2 separate regions of the Homo sapiens genome follow, and region 2 is linked to region 1. Evidence: promoter capture Hi-C in 16 types of primary human blood cells and fetal thymus (Javierre and others, 2016). All regions are on one chromosome and are shown on one strand. The core of a region is centred on a gene start or on the middle of the fragment in contact, and the rest is flanking DNA. Distances in the headings are between cores, read along the strand shown.

The links. The method cuts DNA at HindIII sites, captures the fragments that hold promoters and counts their contacts. A CHiCAGO score of 5 or more calls a contact.
Region 2: a contact is called between a fragment that was not itself captured here and the fragment with the promoter of GLCCI1 in region 1, in 1 of 17 cell types (erythroblasts). The highest score is 5.4, in erythroblasts.

What each region holds. Positions count from the first base shown.
Region 1 is chr7:7,966,393-7,972,330 of GRCh38, forward strand. GLCCI1 (glucocorticoid induced 1) reads left to right here and starts at 2,404. Exons shown (of 8, transcript NM_138426.4): 1 at 2,404-3,415. The coding sequence starts at 2,959. It overlaps GLCCI1-DT (GLCCI1 divergent transcript), which reads right to left and starts at 2,360. Exons shown (of 5, transcript NR_110018.1): 1 at 2,152-2,360. RefSeq lists silencers at 2,227-2,376, 2,587-2,986, 3,067-3,126, 3,217-3,296 and an enhancer at 3,777-3,866. The HindIII fragment of the contact is 4,760 bases long and covers 1,399-5,938 here.
Region 2 is chr7:7,414,331-7,420,268 of GRCh38, forward strand. COL28A1 (collagen type XXVIII alpha 1 chain) reads right to left here. Exons shown (of 35, transcript NM_001037763.3): 26 at 5,555-5,623; 27 at 3,529-3,597. Among named protein-coding and RNA genes, the nearest start is that of COL28A1, 120 kb to the right of the region's middle. The HindIII fragment of the contact is 615 bases long and covers 1,850-2,464 here.

The sequences.
Region 1 (5,938 bases), core at 1,154-3,653:
ATTTTAAGATCATACTAATTCTCTGTTTCTCTGTGTGAGTTATTTAGATTTGCTTTAGATGTCTAAGTCAGCTGTGGTAGATTTGAACAAACACAGAAAGTCCTTAAAATATGACTAGGTATGTTGCTTTAGATCCAAATTAGGTATTGATCATTGTGATTGTGACCTAGAATAAATTTAGAATTATTGTAACCTAATGTGTTGAAGTTGTTCCATAAATATATTTAGGAGTAGCTAGAGATGACATTTCTATAATGCAACTATGCTGTAATCAAAGCAACAACTCAGAAATTTACCAGCATGTAAAAGAAAAATCTTAACTTTTTTTCTTCTTCTTCTTCTTTTTTTTTTTTTTTTTTTTTTTTTTGAGACAGGGTGTCATTCTGTCACCCAAGCTGGAGTGCAGTGGTGTGATCAAGGCTCACTGCAGCCTTGATCTCCCGGCCTTTTGGGCTCAGGTGATCCTCCCACCTCAGCCTCCCTAACCGCGTCCAGCTAGTATTTTTACATTTTTAGTAGAGATGGGGTTTTGCCATGTTGCCCAGACTGGTTTCAAAATCCTGAGCTCAAGTGATCCGTCTGCCTTGGCCTCCCAAGGAGCTGGGATTACAGGCGTGAGCCACCGCACCTAGCCAGCTTTACATATTTTTAATCTGTCAGATTTTTTGTTCTTGCTATTCTGAGAAAAGTCACTGAAAAGAAATCATTTATCATTCTTTTTACACACAAAATAATGCAGTTTTTAAATTAATGAGATAGGCCATTTATATAAAATTTGAAAGAGTAAAGTTTTTATTCATAATTAAAATATATGTTATTCTGGAAAACAAAAAAAAAGTAGTGGTCTGTCTTCATTTGTAAAATTTCCTTTGAACTGATGGGAACTTATCTCACAGATGAGATTTGTGGGCCATTGTGAATACTCTACAGATTATGTACCCCACAGCTTTGAGCTGCCAGGTACTATAGCAGAGTGCTTCCTCAGACTCTTGAGCCAGTCTGTCTGGGTGAAATTTTTAGCTCCCCATATACTAACTATGTGATCTCAGGCAAGACAGCTTATTTATGCCACAACTGAGACCACAGTAAGGATAATAATAGTATCTACCTTGTGGATTATATGAGGACTGAATGAATTAACACACATAATGTTCTTAGAATAGCGGCTGGCACATGGTGAATAAATGTTAGCTCTTATTATAATATGTGGTAAACTGAGGAACTATCACTAGTTTTACTTGGATGAAGTACTGCATGAAATTTTTGTATTTTTATTGAGTTTCATCAATTTTTTTACTGAACCTAGTATGCTTTCTCGTCTGAACACACAAGGAAGAAAAGAAGGATGGCTCCTGTACGTGAAAGTGACCCCTGCATATAGTGCCTGAAATCAGAGGAAGCTTGTCAGTGTGGGCAGACACCACGAGCAGACCAATTTGACATTGTGCTTCTCTTTTAACCTCTTGAAAATTAATGAAAGTTATCTGATGAAGATCCTTACATTAATTGCTCCCGATTAAGGTTTAAAACCTTGGTTTACTGTGGGGTAAATTTATGTTTTTGATAGTCATCCAAAATCTTTGTACGCTTTCAGTTTCATTACAGAATAAAAAACAAATTTACCACAATGGATTATTACATTACATCTGGTATTTATTCCTCCCAAGAAGCTATCTGCTTCGGAAAAGCCAGGGGCGCCCTTCATTAATATATCTAACTGATGGTGTAATGACATAAAATTCCTTGTTGACCCCTGCTATTCAGTGTTATTGTCTTGGAACATAGAACTTGATAATCTCTTTTCACTGCATAACTACAAATGTTAGGCTGTAAGAGTATTTTACTTTGTTCAGTGCAGGTTCCAGACATTTCTCCTGATCACCAGAAGTTCTTTTGATTAATAAGGCTACTGGTCACGAAAACTCAGCTTACTAAAAGAGATCCAGTCTTCTGGTTCTAACTAAAACATCCCACCGGATGCAGGTGTACTTGCAAATTAAAGTTTGCCTCATGTGTCCTGTGTCTCAAGTCATACAGACGGCCCAGGAGGGTGGAGCCCCTGCAACCTGCCTAGCGGGGCGTTTGCGTGTCTGGGGGTGTCGGGACACGCGCAGGACACACACAGTCCCACTTTCCTAGTCTCGCACTTACCTCAAGGCTGTCAACTTTTACGCTCCTCCCTGCGCGCACAGCCCCCACCTCACGCTGCCACCCCTCACGCCCCGCCTTCAAAGTAGGAGGCACCATTGTCATTGGACACTGCTTCTCTCACTCCTATTCCAGAACCAATCACTCGAGTTCTAGTGGGGAGCGCCTAAGCCAATGGAAATGCTCGCTGCGGCAGCTGCCGGGTCCTGGGCGCTGGGAGGCGGTGCCGGGGGCGGGGTGCGGCTGGGGCGAATTAGTTGCCATTCGGAGTGAGGAGTGGGTAGAAGCGGCGGCGGCGGCGGCGGCGTTTGCGGTGGCGCGGACTCCGAGGAGCGCCAGCACCTCGAGGCCCTTTCTCTCTACCCTGGTCCCCAGAAGCAGGGGTCCCGGCCCTCCTTGCAGCTGCCGGGTTCTCCCGTGCGTGCAGCCCTGCGAGGGCTGAGGAGAAGGCTGCGAGCGGCCCTCGGGGCTGCGTGATCCGGGCCGTTGCCCTGTCAGCACGATGCCTGGAGCGGTGGCGGCGGCGGCTCCGGGCTCCTTGCGGCCCCGGCCGTGACCGCCACACCGAGCCCAGCCGGGCGGTTGCGGCCGTTGGACGTTTGTTTTCGCAGCCTTCCCCTCCCCCCTCGCCGAGGCGGCGGGGGTGTGCGTTGGGGAGGGGGAGCCCCGAGACTCCTCCCCCACAGCGATACCCCCGCCCCTCCCCCTTACACACTCGCACGCACTATCGCGCCGGCTCCCACACGCTCGCGCGCCTCCCGCCCCGCGCCTCCGTGTCGGCCGGCGGCGTCCAGGGCCCGCAGAGCCACCATGTCCACTGCCTCCTCCTCCTCCTCCTCCAGTTCCTCTCAGACCCCTCATCCCCCGTCGCAGAGGATGAGGCGCAGCGCCGCGGGGTCCCCGCCCGCCGTCGCCGCCGCCGGGAGCGGGAACGGTGCGGGCGGCGGCGGCGGCGTGGGCTGCGCCCCGGCTGCGGGAGCCGGCCGGCTGCTGCAGCCCATCCGCGCCACGGTGCCCTACCAGCTCTTGCGGGGCAGCCAGCACAGTCCCACGCGTCCGCCCGTCGCCGCTGCCGCCGCCTCGCTGGGCAGCCTCCCGGGGCCCGGCGCGGCCCGCGGCCCCAGCCCGTCCAGCCCGACGCCGCCGGCGGCCGCAGCCCCGGCCGAGCAGGCGCCGCGGGCCAAGGGCCGCCCGAGACGGTCCCCAGAGAGCCACCGGAGGAGCAGCTCACCTGAGAGACGGAGCCCCGGCTCGCCCGTGTGCAGAGGTAGCGAGCCCAACCCTCCCGTCCTCCCGGGCTGCGTCTCCCCGACGGTGCCCTCCGTGGAAACTTCAGCCTCTTCGGGCTTCTCTTTGCTAGTGCATTATCGAAGGTGTGAAAGTGGCTTTGGGAATCTCACCCCCCTGCGGTCGCTGTGGGGCTTGGAGGAGCGAACTGAAAAGCGACTTTTATTTGACCCTCATGCCGCCCCTCAGAGTCTCTCTTCCATCACTCGCCTGCTTCGAGAGGTTTTTCAGTTTAAGAGCTGGCTAGCTCATTCGTGTGTTTGCCGTTTGTAGCCGGGGAAGGAGAAGCTGGGCGAAACACTTAACACGCACACAAACTCTTCAGCAGCGGATAAGGTGGCGGTTGTAATCTCTACCGTCTCTTTGTGCTTTTCTGCAAAGTTCCTAACGTGCCTGTAACTACCGGGATAGTATTTTATTTTTTAGAGGGTTGGTGGCATTAGTTTCGATGTAAGGATATCGGCTGGATGTAATGATATCTGCTAGAGGGGACAGTTTTGAATGTACAATTGAAGTGTATACGGTTTTTTCCCTCAGTCCTCCCTCTCTCCCTCTCCCCCAGCCCCCCGCCACCCCGCCTCTCTCTCTCCCTCTCTTTCTCCCCCTCCCCTTTATATATTCATGCATCAGAGCACTCCTGCACTGGAAACAGTTTGTGCTCTACCGGAGATTTTCATGGTAAATTTCTGAAAACTTATTTGTGGAACGTGTTCGTTTTTTTCCTTCCATTTTTAAGTACACTTAACAGTTCAGTTGAGCTGTTCAAGGATCTCAAGTTTCTTTTTTTGTTAGGTGTCAAAGGTAATGGTGAGCTGGTGGATGCTGTGGGTTTCCCTTAGTGTTTTCTGTTTTGCTTTGGTTTTGTTTATGTCTAGGGACACAGTGCATGATTTAGTTGAGCCCTGGGGGAGAAAAGGAAGATTAGCCAAAACAGGGACTTAAAGCTCATAAGGGAGAGTGGAATAGCTAATATTGTTAGATACCGAACTAGAGCTACAGATGCTGCTGCTGCATTGTGGAGGGAACAGATCATACTGGGTGGAAAAATCTCTGCTTGGAAGGGAAACACTGTCAAAGTCTGTACATTGTTTATGTGGTATGTGGAATTTTTTTTTTTAATGGAGCTTTCTTGATGAAGGTGTTAGAGTTGGAGAAAGTGGTTGTCTGCATTATGATACATTGCAGTCTTGGTGTTTTTGTTTTAATATTTCAGACCCGTAATTAGCATGTTGCTAACGCACTTGTTTTCTGACCACTTGATGGTGAACCAGTGTAGGATGTAGTGCAGTGGGATGAGTACATGAGCAGCAAGAAATACATCCTGTAATCTGTATGCATTGGGAGGAATATGCTCCTGCACTCCTCCCCCAGGTCAAGCCAGCTGCTGCAGAAACTGACATCCTCCAGCAAATCCTGAATGAATGAATGAAAACAACGTGATCGCCCTAATAATGACCACAACTGAACACACATCTTTGGCTGTATTTTATAGAAAAGGCCACCATTTTCTAACAGATTAATGCCATATGCAACTCCTTTGCACATTTTCTAGAACTGTATGAAATGAGAAGTAACAGAACGAACAGAAAACAGTTACATAAATTTTTTAGTGATTTCGCTTCAACAGTGCACAAATTGAGTTTTGGGATTTTCTTGTAGGGACTAAGAGGCATAAAATAAGCATTGCAGATTGTGTACAGAGGGTCTGGTGGGTGTGAGTAAGAGAAGTTTCGGCAATTGCTGCAACAACATAATGGCCATCTAGTACCTCCTCCCCTTTTGTATATAAACACTAACATCTTACAACGGATAATAGTACAACTTGTTTTTCTGCATCCTTCAAAAGGCTTAATGGCCTAGGAATTACATGCTCCATCATCAAGCAGTTTTAATAAAATTTGTGATCTGGCTTAAACTATTCTCTTTGTTGTAGTGTGGCACATACGAGTTTAATGCGATTTTAATGCAATCATGATGAAAACACTTTTCTGAGTCTGGTTGTGCAGCAGACAGATTTGCAGTGTCAGAGAGCTTGTGTTGGGAATGCAAGGGCTTTCTTTGCTAAAGATGTTTTTCTGCTGTTTTAAACACCAGGTGGTTTTGTCAGTTTCTTACATTGCAGTGATTTTTGAATGCGGGCTTCTGTGCCCCCAGTTCCGTGATTATATTACTCCTATGTTACTTCTCCATGTCCCGCCTTTTACCCCCACTACCCAAATTAAAACTGTCCTACTAAACTGTTCTGTTTCCTTAGCCATTTAAAATCCATGATCTGAACAGTTGATTTAATTTTTCGAATGATTATCTTCTCAATTTCTTTTGAATGCTGTAAGGTTCTGACTTGAGTGGATTTTAGCCTCCACTGGTCAAGGTTCCTGCCGCTGCCACTGCTGCTGCAGACACTGACATCACTATACTGCATGAATGAAAAACAACAACGTGCTCCATTTCTTCCTCTGCTCTCCACCTCCTCCTTTTTCTGCACACTTCAGTGTATGTGTGT
Region 2 (5,938 bases), core at 907-3,406, 550 kb before region 1:
TGAACCTGAAAGTCCAAGGCCATTTTAGGATCAAACAGCCACAGTCCCATATTCATTGATCCAAACAACAGACATCTGTGGTTGGGAAAAAGCCCAAGGCCCTGAAGGAGCTGGAGTTCCACTTCAGGGCAGAGCCAGTTGGGCCAGCAGAGGAATGGCAGGAGGCTGCCATGGTACTAAATAAAGAGGGGCGAGCCCATCGTGCTCTCAGGGTTTTCCAGGACCAGAGCTACCACAGCAGCAGCCCTGGGTGGTCCCAGAGCCCCAGGAAAGGCCGGGGAAAGAAGTTCCCAGAAGATCATACTCTTCCACATAGAGAATCAAGAGAATAGGAAGGGGCATGGAAAGAGAAGCCCTTCTACTCCCACATTCCTTCCAGTCATGTCCATTCATTCTACAAATGGTAGCCAGAGTGAGTCTCTTCCAAACTGATCAGATCATTCTTCTCTGACTTCCAGTTGCTCCTAGGATTAAGGCCAAACTCATTACTTGGCCTATAGGACCTCACAAGGGCCCTGCCTACTGCTGTAATCTAAATTCACTCCATTGTGCCATCCTCTATACTCTCCAGAACTCAAAGTTTAATTATTTTATAGCCTGTAAATTCCATGAGGACTAAGTTCACATATTTTTACTCACTACTTTATACTAGCACTTGGCTTATTTGCCTGACATAGGTGATGCTCAATCCGTATTGGTTGGTCAGCTGAATGAATGAATGACTGGCTGAAGAGCCAATATTCTAGCAACTAAGTTAGGTTGAAGCAAATCACTTGTGATTGCAGCTACAACCCTTATTTCTCCCATAAGTGGAAGGGGATAGAGAGACAGAGTACAGTTCAGGCTTCTGTGTTAAAGGTTAACAGCAACAAAGCTTTCCGTCAAAGGCTACTAAGCACACACACCTGCAAGCAGATTTCACTGATTCAAATGCTCTTTGGAAAGGGGTAGGAAATAAGTCAACAAATGAATGTAAGAAATGAAATTTTACTGTTCCTATATCCTTGAAATGACTCAGAAGAATGCCACCAATTTGGTTTTTCAGTTCCCTCCCTTTTGCAGTGATGGTATTTCGTCGGTGCAAAAGTAATTGCGGTTTTTGCCACAGTCAGGAAAATGAGATGGAAGTCCTGAGGGACGAACCTCTGCCCTGCTACCAACTGGATGCCAGGCAATCCAATATGTCTAAAGAGGTTTTTCTGGTTGTTTTGTTTGTTTTTTGAGACAGAGTCTAACTCTGTTGCCCAGGCAGGAGTGCAGTGGTGCGATCTTGGCTCACTGCAACCTCCGCCTCCAGGATTCAAGCGATTCTCCTGCCTCAGCCTCCTGAGTAGCTGAGATTACAGGTACGCACCACCATGCCTGGCTAATTTTTGTATTTTTAGTAGAGATGGGGTTTCACCATATTGGTGAGGCTGGTCTCAAACTCCTGACCTCATGATCCACCCACCTCGGCCTCCCAAAGTGCTGGGTAGTTTTCTTTTTTTGGGAAGACAAGGTCTCACTCTGTCATCCAGGCTGGAGTACAGTGGCACTATCTCAGCTTACTGCAGCCTCTGCCTCCTGGGTTCAAGCGATTCTCATGCCTCAGCCTCCTGAGTAGTTGGGACTACAGACATGCACCACCACACCAAGCTAAGTTTTGTATTTTTAGTAGACACGGGGTTTCACCATGTTGCCCAGGCTGGTCTTGAACTCCTGACCTCAAGTGATCTGCCTGCCTTGGCCTCCCACAGTGCTGAGATTACAGGCATGAGCCACTGCACCCGGCCTAGAGAAGTTTTATGAGTGAGCCTTAGTCAGGGCTCACTGCTAAGCAGCATCAGGCTACAGCCCTAAGTGAAGGAAAAGCTTATCTCATTTCTGATAAGATGGGATACGTGGCAGTTTTGATTTTGGTGCTTTCCTGTGATGGGAGGCTTCAGGACCTGGTTTCACCCAGGATGGAGTTTAGACACAGCATAACCCTGAGGGCATAAGGAGAGGCAGGAAGCCAGATAAGTTATAGTCGGTAAGGATTAATTAAACACAACCCAGGTGAGAATGAGGAAGTAGTTCCCAGATAACAAAGTGGAGAAAACCGGCCCCAGGCCTAAAGACGTGGCAGCAATAACCTAACAGCATGTGTGAACTGAGCTCATGTTGGTGACAGGACCTGTGGTTTGGCATAGGTTTATTCCCTAAGCAAACTCATGCAAAACTGGGTATACAGCACTACCACCTTCTAACCACAGAATTTAAAGATTAAGTATGAGATTGGTGTTGTTTATGAGAAAGCAGAGTGTTGCTGTATTTTCTTTCCAGGGCTTGTACAATATGGGCAACATGCCTATTTGGCCTTTGCTTAGATACTCAGCCCGAGAGATGAACAACAGTTATTTAGAAGACCTGCTGTAGAAGCTCTAGACATTGTGTGATAAAACTGGAGATTTAACACACATTCTATGAGTTCTGCTCTTGACTAAGCTTACTCTCTCTACACAGAAGTAGGCAGTTTAATTTCAACACAGGATTTTCACATTATCTTAAGCTCCTACTGTCTCCTACTGACTAAGAAGTTCTGCTATTTGAAAAGGAGTTTATTTTGAATGTTCCCACAGTTTTAGAATCAATCTCAATCATCCAGAGGTGAATAACTCAGTTTCAAAGCTTAAGCATGGTAAAAATATATATATATATAAATGTATGTAAAATAAAAAACCAGCTTATGACGGGGGCAGCAGTGGAATCGGAAAAAAAGAGAGTGAACCGATAAGAACAACATCATCAACATATTAGAAGCAGAAGAGGGAATTTTTTAGAATTACATAGTAATGTTTAGATGCCAAATTTGTCTACTGAGACATGAGAGACCCTGAGAGTCCCAGCATGCTGGACAAGCTTGTTGCTGCTGACGCAGAAGCAAAGTGACATGCAGATGGCTATGAATTCCAGTAACACAGACTCAGGGCCTAGAATAGAGGTTCTCACCTTGGCTGCTCAGGAGAATCCCTTGGAGAGCTTTGAAAACCACAGCACTCACACTCTACTCCCAGAGATTCGGATTTCGTTCCTCTGGGAAAGGGCATTAGTACTATCCAAAAGCTCCCTAGGTGATTCCACTGTGAGCTAAGATTGGGAAGCCCTGGGCTACCATGGAGGATACAGGTGAGGAAGGTAAGGGAAGGAGGGAGGGGGAGGGAAGGAGGGAGGGGGGAGGGAGGGAGGGAGGGGGGGGGGAGAGAGAGAGAGAGAGAGAGCAACTGAGTATAAATTCTCCATTCAATTCACAAAGAGGGGAAAGCAACAAACCATAGAACAGTTCACTTTTGCACCAAGCAATTTATATAATGTTTAGCATTTGCTGAAGTATTGTACTCATACCATTTTTACACTTCCAGATGATGTCTCTAAACACTGGATGCCATTTAACTGCGAGGCTCACAATAAATCTATTTCATAATAGCCATTTTTGCGTTATCTACAACCTCTTCTCCCAATCACTCTGGTGAAATCAGAGGTGACTCCAGCACAACCCTATTCACTTACTTTAATTCCCTGTGATCCATAGCCAGGGGGGCCAGGAGGGCCAGGCAAGCCTTTCTGCCCAGTATCACCCTGTTAGAAGATGGGGAGAATTTGAAGACAAAATGTAAGAAGATCGAAGAAGAAACAACGTTAAGTATTACTACTCTCAGCTGCATTCTTACTTCAGTCTGACCAGGACTTTCATGCTGCCTATAAGCTACTTCCTATTTTACTTAGAGTGCTTCCCCAATATTTTTAAACCACAGAATTCTATGCAAACAAAACCTTAAATATAATCCAAATAAAAATTAAGCAGTAAGCAGAGCCGCTGGGCCTAAGCAGAAATGGAGGCCCAGGGCCTCATCTGCTTGGGCCCCCTTCACTGCCCTACCACCAAGCTCAAGAACACCAGGGCTGCCCTGCACCACATATGAAAACCACTGACATGTGGCTCCACATAGCCTTAAGATGTTGCTCCATTTCAATATAAGGTGTGATTTCACTGGGGTTGCACTTAAAGATCCAGTGGATATCAATGTCCAAATTTTTAGGAAAATGTGTAGATGAAGCTATAAGCAAGTGTAGCATTTCCCAGTATCTGTTCATAAACTGAGCCCATGTTTCTTTGGAAACACTTCGTGGTGGAATAAGATTGGAAAATAGCATGCGCTTTCCCTTGGAGATCTCCAGTGCACACTAATATAGTAGACTAATGGCTCTAACAAGTCCCACAGTAAAGAAATTAGTGTAACGTTGCTTATCCCAGAAGTTCCTAAATTAACACTGGATGGAAGAAGCCTTCAGAAGTGCTGGGTTAATATAAGTTATTGTATAAGTCAGTCTTTTACTTTCCAGTATTAAAAAAGCTTGACTTTTTCTGATTATAAGAGGAATACCTGCCCATTGCAAAAAAAAAAATTAAACAGAAATAAAGATGACATGAACAAGAAAAATAGACCCATCTTCCCATCACCCAGTGATAATGACTACTAACATCTTGGGGGGATCTTCATCCATTTAAAGTGATCTAGAAGGTTCAAAAATAGCATACCGCCAAAATTGAGTTGAGGGACAAAACAGAGATAAACTGAGAATCTTGGTAATTCTGGGATGCTCAGTAAAATCTTTGACTCATACAGCCTTTTCCCTCTCCTCTCTGAGAATGGGCTCTAATTCACTTCTGTGCATTTTCGGCATGAATATACCAATTCAAAATTTGAATTTGTGGTGGGTGGTTCATTGACATCTATTTTCCCTATTGAACATGCTTGCTACTTCTTTACCCTACTTTCGAACAAATCAAAGAAAGTTGTTGAGCAACTGAATGAACAATTAAAACTAGGTTTCTCAAACTCAGCACTATTAACATTTTGAGCTGAGTCACTCTTTCTGATGGGAGGCTGTCCTGGGCATTGTAGAATGGTTGGCAGCATCTCTGGACTTGATCTACTACAACCAAAAAATGTCCCTAGACATTGCCACATGTTCTCTGAAGCCAGGGAAGGGAAACAAAGTCTCCCTCTTTGAGAAACACTGGATTAAAAGAATAAAAGGATGAATAACCACCAAACTGAAGGAGACATAGAAAGGAGGGAAACTGGGCCAAAAGAAGTTGCTCTCATCTTCTCCAGGGACAATCAGTCTAGACCCTTGTACTGACACCCTGCCAGAGTAGCTGTGGCACAAAGGGCACAATGACACATTAGCAGGTGACCTGTTAAAAAAGCCACCTGAGGCACCTCTGCCAAAGTAAAGATGTGCTTCTTGATGACGGCACAGCCTCTAAGAAACCCAGAAATGTTCTGAGCACTTTGCAGTTAAAAAGAGGCTGACTTGCTCATTTCTTTTGGGGGAAGTGAATGGCTTTATAAACTCGAATGTTCTATTTTACTGAACGTTCACCTGATATGAAAAATAAGACGTTTCATCAGTCACCAAGAAAAAAATAAGTCAACACCAAGACGAACACTTATTATGAAGTTACTGTTCACTTGTTTGTCACTGATGATATCTGACCCTCACACAAAGCACTGAGCTGAGGACTCACCTTTGGCCCTTGGGTTCCTACGCCCCGAGGCCCAGAAGGACCTGGAGGGCCTCTGACCCCAGGCTCTCCCTGAAAAGACACAACAAATAACAAGTTACTAATTTTTTAAAGACTTTATGTTTTTTTCAATATATATATTTTAATATCAAAAACTTCTTGAATGTGACTAAGGTATTAATTGAACCCTCTTCTCCTAGATCACTTTTCTATTACCACCTAGGCAATCTTCAAACCAACAGATCCAGGTCCATTTCAAATTAATCAAGTCAATTAACTTCTTGGCAACATTAACTTTTTTCAGAACCCTCTTCTCTAGAATTTGGAAAAGTAATTACGAGTATTGTGAATAGAGGATGGAAGAAGAGACAAGAATAAAAAACAACC